3 separate regions of the Homo sapiens genome follow, and regions 2 and 3 are each linked to region 1. Evidence: promoter capture Hi-C in 16 types of primary human blood cells and fetal thymus (Javierre and others, 2016). All regions are on one chromosome and are shown on one strand. The core of a region is centred on a gene start or on the middle of the fragment in contact, and the rest is flanking DNA. Distances in the headings are between cores, read along the strand shown. Region 1 holds the start of C12orf56 (chromosome 12 open reading frame 56). Region 2 overlaps RASSF3 (Ras association domain family member 3). Region 3 overlaps GNS (glucosamine (N-acetyl)-6-sulfatase).

What was found. Contacts are between HindIII fragments. The CHiCAGO score rates a contact against its expected background, and 5 or more counts as called.
Region 2: a fragment that was not itself captured here is called in contact with the fragment with the promoter of C12orf56 in region 1 in 1 of 17 cell types (activated CD4 T cells); the score reaches 5.8 in activated CD4 T cells.
Region 3: a contact is called between a fragment that was not itself captured here and the fragment with the promoter of C12orf56 in region 1, in 1 of 17 cell types (non-activated CD4 T cells). The highest score is 5.8, in non-activated CD4 T cells.

Annotation. Positions count from the first base shown.
Region 1 is chr12:64,389,504-64,392,999 of GRCh38, reverse strand. It overlaps C12orf56 (chromosome 12 open reading frame 56), which reads left to right and starts at 2,242. Exons shown (of 13, transcript NM_001170633.2): 1 at 2,242-2,686. The coding sequence starts at 2,435. The HindIII fragment of the contact is 6,871 bases long and covers 93-3,496 here.
Region 2 is chr12:64,687,642-64,691,177 of GRCh38, reverse strand. RASSF3 (Ras association domain family member 3) reads right to left here. Exons shown (of 5, transcript NM_178169.4): 3 at 2,725-2,962. Among named protein-coding and RNA genes, the nearest start is that of MIR548Z, 67 kb to the right of the region's middle. The HindIII fragment of the contact is 209 bases long and covers 1,708-1,916 here.
Region 3 is chr12:64,718,654-64,721,962 of GRCh38, reverse strand. It overlaps GNS (glucosamine (N-acetyl)-6-sulfatase), which reads left to right. Exons shown (of 14, transcript NM_002076.4): 12 at 258-368; 13 at 1,781-1,941. Among named protein-coding and RNA genes, the nearest start is that of GNS, 39 kb to the left of the region's middle. The HindIII fragment of the contact is 1,418 bases long and covers 688-2,105 here.

The DNA of each region.
Region 1 (3,496 bases), core at 993-3,492:
CAAAGTGCTGGGATTACAGGCATGAGCCACCACACCCAGCCTGTGCTTCATTTTAATGTTTGCTAAGCTTAGTGCACTTGTCACCAAAAGCTTATTCAAGATGGGCTTCTTGGCAGATATATCAAGTATGCTGTCTTTTTTGGTCCTGGTCCAGTCATTCTGTTTCTCTTAGTCCTGGGAAGTAGGTATGAAGTAGGAAGCCTGAGAGACACAAAATAGTAGACTAAGATAAGGCCTTTCCCTTATGTGGGCCTCACTTTCCACCTCTGATATTGTAGTCATTCATCTTTCAACTGCTTTTGTGAGGTGTGGCTATTCAGCAGAGGTGAAGCGCCTTTGCCTTTCTGTTAGTTTGAAGCAACAAACTCTATTTAGAGTGGTTTAGATAATGAGTAGTCTTTATTTTGGAGGAAATAGCCATGCGGCATCTTTTATCAATAAAGGTTGCTACGGATGGTGTAGTTCATTCATTTTTCATCCATTTATGAAGTTAGGAAGGCTCAGATGTGTGATGAGATCCTAAGAAAACTTTAACTACTAGGTCATTTAAGATTTTGCCAGCAGGTGGCACTTCTCTTTACTCACTTGAGTTCCTTAACATGATCTTAGACTTAAGTCTAGCCAGACCCTTACATGGCGGTGGTTCATGCCTGTATTCCCAGCACTTTGGGAGGTCAAGGCAGGCAGATCAGTTGAAGTCAGGAGACAAGCCATGGCCAAGATGGTGAAATCCTGTCTCTACTAAAAATACACACAGAAAAAAAATTAGCCAGGCATGGTGGTGTACACCTGTAGTCCAAGCTACTTGGGAGGCTGTGGCAGGAGAATGGCTTGAACCCAGGAGGCAGAGGCTGCAGTGAGCCGATATCATGCCACTGCACTCCAGCCTGGGTGACAGAGGGAGACTCTGTCTCAAAAAAAAAAAAAAAAAAAAAGTTTAGCCAGACCAAAACATTTCTCTTTCCCTTTGTACTAGTGTAGTCTACAATATCTGTTTATGGATTGTAATATATTTATACCTTCTTTCCACAAGGGATTTGAAGTTGCTTATAACATACAGTATACAATAATAAAATATGTAGAAAGGGAGAATATAAAGAATATATCAAATTTGATTCAGGGTTGCTGGCAGCCACAGCAATGAACGATATGGTTTCATTATCAGGTTTTTGGGTCAATGGGGAGGGGAAGAGAATAACTTTTCTAGGATTCGAAATAAAAAATGGAACTTCTGACTTAGAGCATTTCTGTTGTGCCCTTCTCATTTCTCTAACCTAATTAGTAAGTTATTCTTGGCCTGTAAAAACTAAGGAATACTTACTCCTCTGCAGCCTCAGGGTATGTAATCCGCATTCTTCAGTCTATCAGCTTCAACTTTTCAAGATGCCAGCATCACCCATTCATTCTTCCTGCATAGATTGTCCTGGGCATTGGAAACAAAACCATATGCCTTAGGTTGGTTTGGGTGTGCTCACATCAATTCATGTGAAGAATCCCTTTCTCAAAGGCTGGGCGAGGTGACTTAACGCCTGTAATCCCAGCACTTTGGGAGGCCGAGGCGGGCGGATTACCTGAGGTCGGGAGTTGGAGATCAGCTTGACCAACATGGAGAAACCCCGTTTTTACTAAAATATACAAAATTAGCTGGGCGTGGTGGCGCATGCCTGTAATTCCAGCTACTCAGGAGGCTGAGGTAGGAGAATCGCTTGAACCCGGGAGGGGGAGGTTGCGGTGAGCCGAGATGGCGCCATTGCACTCCAGCCTGGGCAACAAGAGCAAAGCTGCGTCTCAAAAAAAAAAAGAGAAAAGAAAAAAAAAATCCCTTTCTCACTGGTTGGAGAAAGAAGACCTATGTTTACACTCCGACAATATCAGAAAGCTGTGCCAGGCCATGTTATAACCAAAAGCTAAATCTGTGTGATTGGGTTTAATAGGTTTCTAGGGTTGTTAAAAATAAATCGGTAAATTAAACTCTTTCAAGTTTCTAACAGGAAACCAGATTGAAGCTGGCTTCCATTACCAATAAAGTTTGTATTGGATGGTGTGATCCGCAACAGAGTACGCAGTGGTGGGGACTGGCATTAGGGGTGGGCGGGAGAGACCCTAAAAATCCACCGCCCTTCGGCCGCAGGGGACTTCACGGTGATGAGCCCGAGGTGCCCATCAACTCGGGCCTGAAGGACCAGCGTCTTGCCCCGCCCATCGCCGTCTGAGGTTAGGACAAAGATCGAGAGGCTGGACAGGGCTGGGGAGGGCGCTCCAGGGAAGCCGACCTAGCGTCGATTCCTGCAGTTGCGGCCCGGGTCCCCGCGCCTGGAGAGGAGGCGACGCGTGGCCGGCGGCTTTGTGGCGCGCGGGTTCCAGCGCGGGGGCGGGGAGAGGGCGAGCTGAGGGCCTCGAGTCCCAGCACTCCGCCACGCTGCGGGCGCCGGGCATGGCCAGCCCCTTGCCGTCCGGCTTCCCCGCGCGCAGGAACAGCCGCCTGGATGTGTTCCTGCGGCGGCATCTGCCGCCCGAGGTCTACGACGCGGTCCGCGCCTACGAGCCATGCATCGTGGTGTCCAACTCTGAGAACCACATCCTCAAGTATGTGGTGCTAAGCGACCGGCTCGTCTACCTAACCGAGAACCCGCCCAAGTCCATCCGGCGGGTAGTGGCTCTGCGGGACGTCGTGGCCATTGACCTGGTGAGCGGCGCGGGTGGGCAGGCGGGCTCGGGAGCGCAGTGAGAACTCCCGGCTGGGGCCCCCAAACCCAGCCCTCCTGCGCGGGGAGGGCTGCCCCATCCTGCCCTCGACTCCCCTCCTCTTATTTGAGAACGAGGAACACAGGGAAGCTGTGGATTGCTGTGAGCACTCCTAATACAAACACGTCTCCCATTCTCCTCGTGTCTGCCTGTTCACCCATTCTCCCGCCTCCCCTACCCCACGTAGGGCTACAGGTTTGAGAACCGAGCTCCCTATCAAAAATACCTTTTAAAGTCATTCCTTTGTTAACAAAGCACCTAGTCAGTGCCAGGCACTGTGCTAGACTCGGAGGATGCAAAAACGAAAGAGGGCCCCTACCTAGAAGCAGTCGCTGGAGGGCTAGAAAGCCAACACCCGTGCAAATAAATGCTGTGTGTTAAGTGCTGTTATATCTCATTTACTTTTTTGCCCCCGATGCTTAGAGCATGTTAGATGCTCAATAAGAATAAATGCATAAGGCCGGGTGCCGTGGATCACGCCTATAATCCTTACACTTTGGGAGGCCAAGGTGGATAGATCACCGGGGGTCAGGGGTTCGAGACCAGGCTGGCCAACATGGTGAAACGCCGTCTCCACCAAAAGTACAAAAATTACCCAGGCGTGGTCGTGTGCACCTGTAATCCCAACTACTTGGGAGGCTGAGGCACAAGAATCGCTTGAACCTGGGAGGCGGAGGTTGCCGTGAGCCGAGATCGCCCCACCTGCACTCCAGCCTGAGCTACAGAATGAGTGAGACACCGTTCCCCTCCA
Region 2 (3,536 bases), core at 563-3,062, 300 kb before region 1:
TAGAAAACAAGGTAAGAGCCAGGCATGGTGGCTCATGCCTGTAATCCCAATACTTTGGGAGGCCGAGGTGGGCGGGTCACCTGAGGCCAGCAGTTTGAGACCAGCCTGGCCAACATGGCAAAACCCTGTCTCTACTAAAAATACAAAAAATCAGCCGGGCGTGGTGGCGGGCACCTGTAATCCCAGCTACTTGGGAGGCCGAGGCAGGAGAATCACTCAAACCTGGGAGGTGGAGGTTGGAGTGAGCCGAGATCGTGCCATTGCGCTCCTGCCTGGGCAACAAGAGTGAAACTCTGTCTCAAAAAATAAATAAAATTTTTTTTAAATGAAAAAAAAAAGGCAAGATAAGAAACCTAAAAAAGGGTCCACTACTCCTTTAAAAACAATAAAAATAGGCCAGGCATAGTGGCTCGCACCTGTAATCCCAACACTTAAAGGCTGAGGCAGGAGGATCACTTGAGGCCTGGAGTTCGAGACCAGCCAGGGCAACATAGCAGGACCCTGGTCTCCAAAAAAAAAAAATTTTTTTTTCTAACTAGCCAGGCATAATGGGGCCCGCCTATAGTCCTAGCTACTTAGGAGGCTGAGGCAAGAGCATCACTTGAGCCCAGGAGTTCAAGGTTACAATGAGCTATGATCATGCCATGGTACTCCAGCCTAGGTGACAGAGTAAGACGCTGTCTCAAAAACCAAGGCCAGGCGTGGTGGCTCATACCTGTAATCCCAGCACTTTGGGAGGCCGAGACAGGCAGATTGCCTGGGGTCAGGAGTTTGAGACCAGCCTGGCCACCAACATGGTGAAACTCTGTCTCTACTAAAAATACAAAAGTTAGCTGGGCATGGTGGTGGGCACTTGTAATTGTAGCTACTTGGGAGGCTGAGGCAGGAGAATCACTGGAACCCAGGAGGCGGAGGTTGCAGTGAGCCGAGATTGTGCCACTGCACACCAGCCTGGGCAACAGAGCAAGACTCCGTCTCAAACAAACAAACAAAAAACAAATTTAAAAAAAAATGTATATACCATCCAAAGAACATAAAAACAAGAGTTCTAAAAGCAAATCTCTCTACAGATTAATTAAGAATTAGCGAGGCCAGGCGCGGTGGCTCACACCTGCAATCCCAGCACTTTGGGAGGCTGAGGCGGGCGGATCACAAGGTCAGGAGATCGAGACCATCCTAGCTAACACAGTGAAATCCCGTCTCTACTAAAAACACAAAAAAATTAGCCAGACGTGGTGGCGGGCGCCTGTAAGTCCCAGCTACTCGGGAGGCTGAGGCAGGAGAATGGCGTGAACCCGGGAGGTGGAGCTTGCAGTGAGCCAAGATTGCGCCACTGCACCTCCAGCCTGGGTGACAGAACGAGACTCCGTCTCAAAAAAAAAAAAAGAATTAGCGAATTAGCAGCTACAAACCAAGCAATCAGAATATAAGCTCCGGTAGCTTCAAGCACAGCTATATATGTCTCATGCTAGACACACACATACAGTGACATTGCCAATCATGTTAAAGGATTTGCCAGCCATGGGGGTAATATTTCAACAAGTCACGATTACTTTCAGATTGTACAGCTAAAGTCCAGGTGAGCAGGCAAAGAAACTGGCAGATAAAAATGCCATCGAGCTTCTCTACATTATTGTGGCACTTCCAGATGCACTGCATCGCAGGTGCCAATTTCCCTATAGATATAAGCCCCCACAATACTAAGCTTGTGACCTCTGAAGGTAGGAACCCTGGCCTGTTCATCTTTGTATTCCACAGGGTCTAGCCCCATGGTTTGTTTTTAAAAAGATGTATGCATACTCAGCAATGAGCTGGGTTTCATCCTGTGTAACTGAAGAACATTACTATCATGTCAAGGTTAATATATTTTCTTCTATAGCTACATTAGGCTTTACCGAGAAAAACCAAAGAAAGCTTAAATAGTTTATTGTACACACACACACACACACACACACACCCCGATTTCAAATCGCATGTAGTGAGTCACTGAATCACTACTGTCCACCAATGTTATCAATTTCTGGTCACTGCCTGACCTGGAATATCTCATTCTGTTTCACGCAGTAATTTAATATTTAATGTTCTCTTTCTATCCCCTGAATGTGGATATGAAGTTTTAGTCAGACCCTAGATCAAAATGTTATTCACTCATTTGATGAGCCTCTGGGGGACAGAGTACCAAAATGTCCCGGCGTAACACCAAGTGAGACAAGCTAAGGCAACAGGAGAGCCCAGGGCTGGGCCGTTTCCATCAGTACGCTGAAATGTGCTGTGATGCACATGTGCCTCCCCAGTCGCAAGATCTCAGCACACATCCACCAAACCACTCCACGTACTGATGCACATCAAATGTGGAATGTGCTATTGAAAACTTCAAACACAGAGGCACTCTTTTGTGTCCTAAAGAAAACTAAAATCAAAGCCACTCCTAACAACCACCAAAAACAGCCCCCGCCCCATCCCCCCACCAACACCACAAAATACTCGTAACTGCCAATCACATATGGATGCTTCCAAGCTCCTCAGACCCTCAACTGTCCAACTCAAAAATATGGACAGCCAGGAAGCACTAAGTGCATGCTAAGATCACCATGGCTTCCAGCATCGGACTCCAGGCTCTGACACAACTGACATGGATGAGACCCACCAGTCTTCCCTCTGCTAATGAGAACAGCAGATGCAAGTAGAAGCACAGACCATTTTCCTTTTAAGCTGGCAGCGTACCTTGGTCTTCCCTGTGACAACGCTTATAAAGTGCAAACTTGGCAGGGCTCTCAGTCACGAGAAACTTTTTGAGCAGGGCCTCGATCACTTCCCCGACAGTGTTTGTGCTGCTGATATGAAGTGTATTCATACAGCCATTGCTACTGGGAGAGAGTTTTCCAGAATTTGGAGAAGTCTGTGGAGGTTTGCAGAGTTCCATCTGTACTTTAATGAAGCCAGTGTAAATCCCATTTGAATTCTGAAGCAGGGAGAGAAGCACACACTTAGCTGGGTGGATGGTGGCACTTTAGGGAAGAAGCATATCAAAACAAAACGGGAAGGTGAAACACTCCTTTGTTCTCTTCTCTTGAGGTTTGTGGCAGAACTTCACTAAAGATTGCCCCCAAAGGAATGACCTCAGAGGGCGGTTAACACACCAGGCAAAGTGCTTCCAGAGGCAAGGTCTGCAGGGCAGATGTGGACACTGAAGAAGCCTCCTGATGCTGTGGCTGACTGCCGGCCCCAGACTCATGCCTCTGAAGCTACTGGCAAAAGGTCAGGGTCCATTTGCGAGGTTACAATCCAACGGAGCAGATGCTAGCCAAACCACAAAACTTATTAAAGCTTGGGGGATATGTCTAGGCTACAGGCTCAAAGGAAACAACATCCTCAACTGGTGACTATTATACACAAAAGGAAGGTCACAATTAGGGCTCTGAAATACTGAAGTCAACAACAAGGGGACAGTAAGAAAACAGGCTATTTTCATTCCTAGTGGCTATATTCATATGCACTGAATTACTAACTCTGCTTAAACTTTTTAATGCAGCATA
Region 3 (3,309 bases), core at 147-2,646, 330 kb before region 1:
AGTAATTATTGTCAGGAGTTTAGCAGACAAGGATGGCAACAGTCTACAAATGGAACAACCCATATACCTTGATCAAGTTAGCCAAAGGAACAAAACCTCACATCTGTTTTTGAGTTACTGGCTTCCCCATGGAAGGTTTTCTAATTGCTGTCAAATTGCATGTCCGGCATGAGCCAAGCCGATTGCCCTTCTAGGCAACTAGGTATTTGTTACTATGGAAGAACTGTCTTCATTTAACTTTTGAAATATCCCTACAGCAATGCTTCCCAGACTGTGTATGTGAAGATGCTTATAACAATACCTATGCCTGTGTGAGGACAATGTCAGCATTGTGGAATTTGCAGTATTGCGAGTTTGATGACCAGGAGGTAAGAGGGACTTCTGCCTGCACTTCCCCCGCTCCTTTCTTGCTGGTGCTTTGTTGGCTGGACTTGGTGGCATAAGAGCAATTCCAAGGCTGCTCCCTAGGGAAGAGGTTGTGTTTCTTATCTGTGCTTCACTTTAGGTTTCCTTCAGTTGTAAGGCCATGTCTCACTTCTCTAATTGTAATCTTTCTGAATTGAGTTCTCTCCACTCCCACCACCACCCAAATATACACTTTAAATGCACAATTCACGTTTTCAGAATGATAAATGCTTTGTCTGTTAGCTTCCCTGGTAGATTGGTTGGAGCATTTTCTAGAAAGCTTACCAGCACCTGGTGTATTCGGAAACTCCTGTTCCCACCACAGCATAATCCAATGCTGCTGTAATAGATTAGAGTGGGGGTCAGAGGCCCAGGAGTCCATCCATGGAAGAAGGTGGTTTTTGGCCAACACAGGTTGGTATGGATTATCTGAAGGATCCCATGGACTCTAGTCCCTTGTGGTTTCTTACTGTTTATCAGCATATGCTCACCTGCCCCATCTGGCAACCCTCATCTGACCATCTGGAACAGATGCCCATCTGTGTTTCTCAGAAATGGACTCATTCTCCACTCCATTTGCAGCTGATAAGCACTTTGGACAACAAGCAAGAGAGCTTTCCTCAAACTCAGTTCCTGTTCCCTGCTCCCCCATAATGTTTATCAGTTTGATAACTACTTTATAAGTGATTGTGTGAGTGAGGGCAGCTACCTGAAGCCATTATAGGCAAAATTACCTACCATCTTTCTAGCCTCACATTTGACTCCAATTTGGAGAACAGCATACAGATTATAGAGGGAAAAGTACTGCGTTAGACCTGTCTTATTTTAGAAATAATAATTAGTATTGTGTCCTTCCCCAATATATCCACAATTACTTTTTAAAATAGGAAAACTTAACATTTGTATAACACAGGCAAGAGTACTTTCATATCATTCTCATTTGAACTTCACAATTCTAGGGCAAAAATCACCTTTAAATATTCGCTCTCACTTTAGTAACTTTATTGCCAAGTCTTGTTTCTGAGACCTTGCCATTGGAGGCTCCTGCTTTCTGTTCTAATTACAGAAGATAATGCATTTCTTCCCCATACCCTCTCTTGCCTCTGCCTGAAGGCACAGGGTGTGCAGGGGCCCCTTTTTAGCATGTGGCTAGAGACCCGAAGCAACTGAACCCCCAGAACAGATGCTCCCTCATCTCAAGGAAGCAGTGAGCTCTTTGAGGATCTTGAAAACAGATTGAGAGTCTCCAGGGCCTTGATTTTTTTTTTTTTTAATCTACCTCCTCCCTTCCCCTTTAGAAATAAGTCACGTTAAGAGTATTTCTTCACGGCTAACCTTTGCTCTTTTCTTTCCTCCATTCTTTCATGTCCTCTAGGTGTTTGTAGAAGTCTATAATCTGACTGCAGACCCAGACCAGATCACTAACATTGCTAAAACCATAGACCCAGAGCTTTTAGGAAAGATGAACTATCGGTTAATGATGTTACAGTCCTGTTCTGGGCCAACCTGTCGCACTCCAGGGGTTTTTGACCCCGGGTAAGTTTCCTTTCTCTTCATTTACTTGGCCAAGTTTTTTCTAGTAGACATGCTGTTCTTGAAGGCAAAGGGAGCCCTTTTTGCTGTGAGATGATGATTCTTCTGCTTTAGAGGGAATACTGTGTTCTAATTGCATCAGCCCGTTGTGCTGGGAAAATCAAGCTTTTGAAACTTTTGTTCTCCACTGCCAGTTGTTACTTTAGCCAGAGGTACAGCCCTGCTCCCCACCAAACATGGGGCTCTTGTTATTTTCGTGCTGTGATTATTGTCATGGTACCACTTGTTTGCATTGGTGACACTTGGGGCTTCTTTAAGTAAGCTGCGACCCACTGCTGCCCTGTTCACCTGTTCCCTAGAGCTTGCAAGAGTATATGCCTTCATTTCATTTCTCAGAAACCCCTACTACAGAAACTTGAATGTTTGCTGGTGAATTTAATATATTAAACACACAATGAAAATAGAAGGTGTAAACTCAGATGTTGAAATATATAAGCCCATTGCACGATATGGAGGTATAAAGGATGTTTAGCTGTCACCTGCTATGTCAGATTTGTTCCCCACACGGTCCTTCTTAGTAACTTTTCAGCAGTAACACTGGGTGTCAGTACACCATGCATTTGAGCTGCTGGTGGCAGGAACCTTGTCATTTATCTTTTGCTTGAAGATCATGAAGTTTAAAAATCAAACTTTCACTGGGAAAGGAATATTTTAGTTCCTACCTTCAGACTGTAAGAGAGGGAAGAATGATGTCCTAAGTTGATGGAAAGTTATCACTTAATTTTTTAGCCGTCTTTGTATTAAATTTTATCTTTAGTCCAAATTAGAGACAAATGAATGTGAATGAGTAGAAAAACTCGATGATAGACTGTTCATTGTTTGCTTTTAAATAATGTATATAGTGCCAAAGTGGCATGGACACCAGTAAACTAAAGCCAGGTAACAATATAAAAAGATAATATTTATTATTTTATATCACTTAAATGAAATAACTGTTTTTATATGGATAATCCCATTAGTACAATAAGAATGGTCAAGAATTTTGACCATTGGTCTTTCCTTTGGTCTTTCCTCCAAGTTAGTGAAATAGATCCTAGCTTGGTACCAGTTACCTGAAATAGGAAGTCCAGTCCCTAAAATAAAAGCACAAGACTTCCAGTTTACATGTGCTGACTTTGCAATTTCCAACAGTTACTTAGCTCAGAATGTTCTTTTAAACCAAATTAAGTTAGATGTCGATAGCAGTTAATGTTTTTTAACCATGTACTCCCTGGCTGACTCTGGGAACTTAAAGCCAGCATCTGATTAAATCTTAAATGGAGGGTCAAGGGACTGGACCTCTTGGATTATGATGTGTGGCCAAACAGTCCC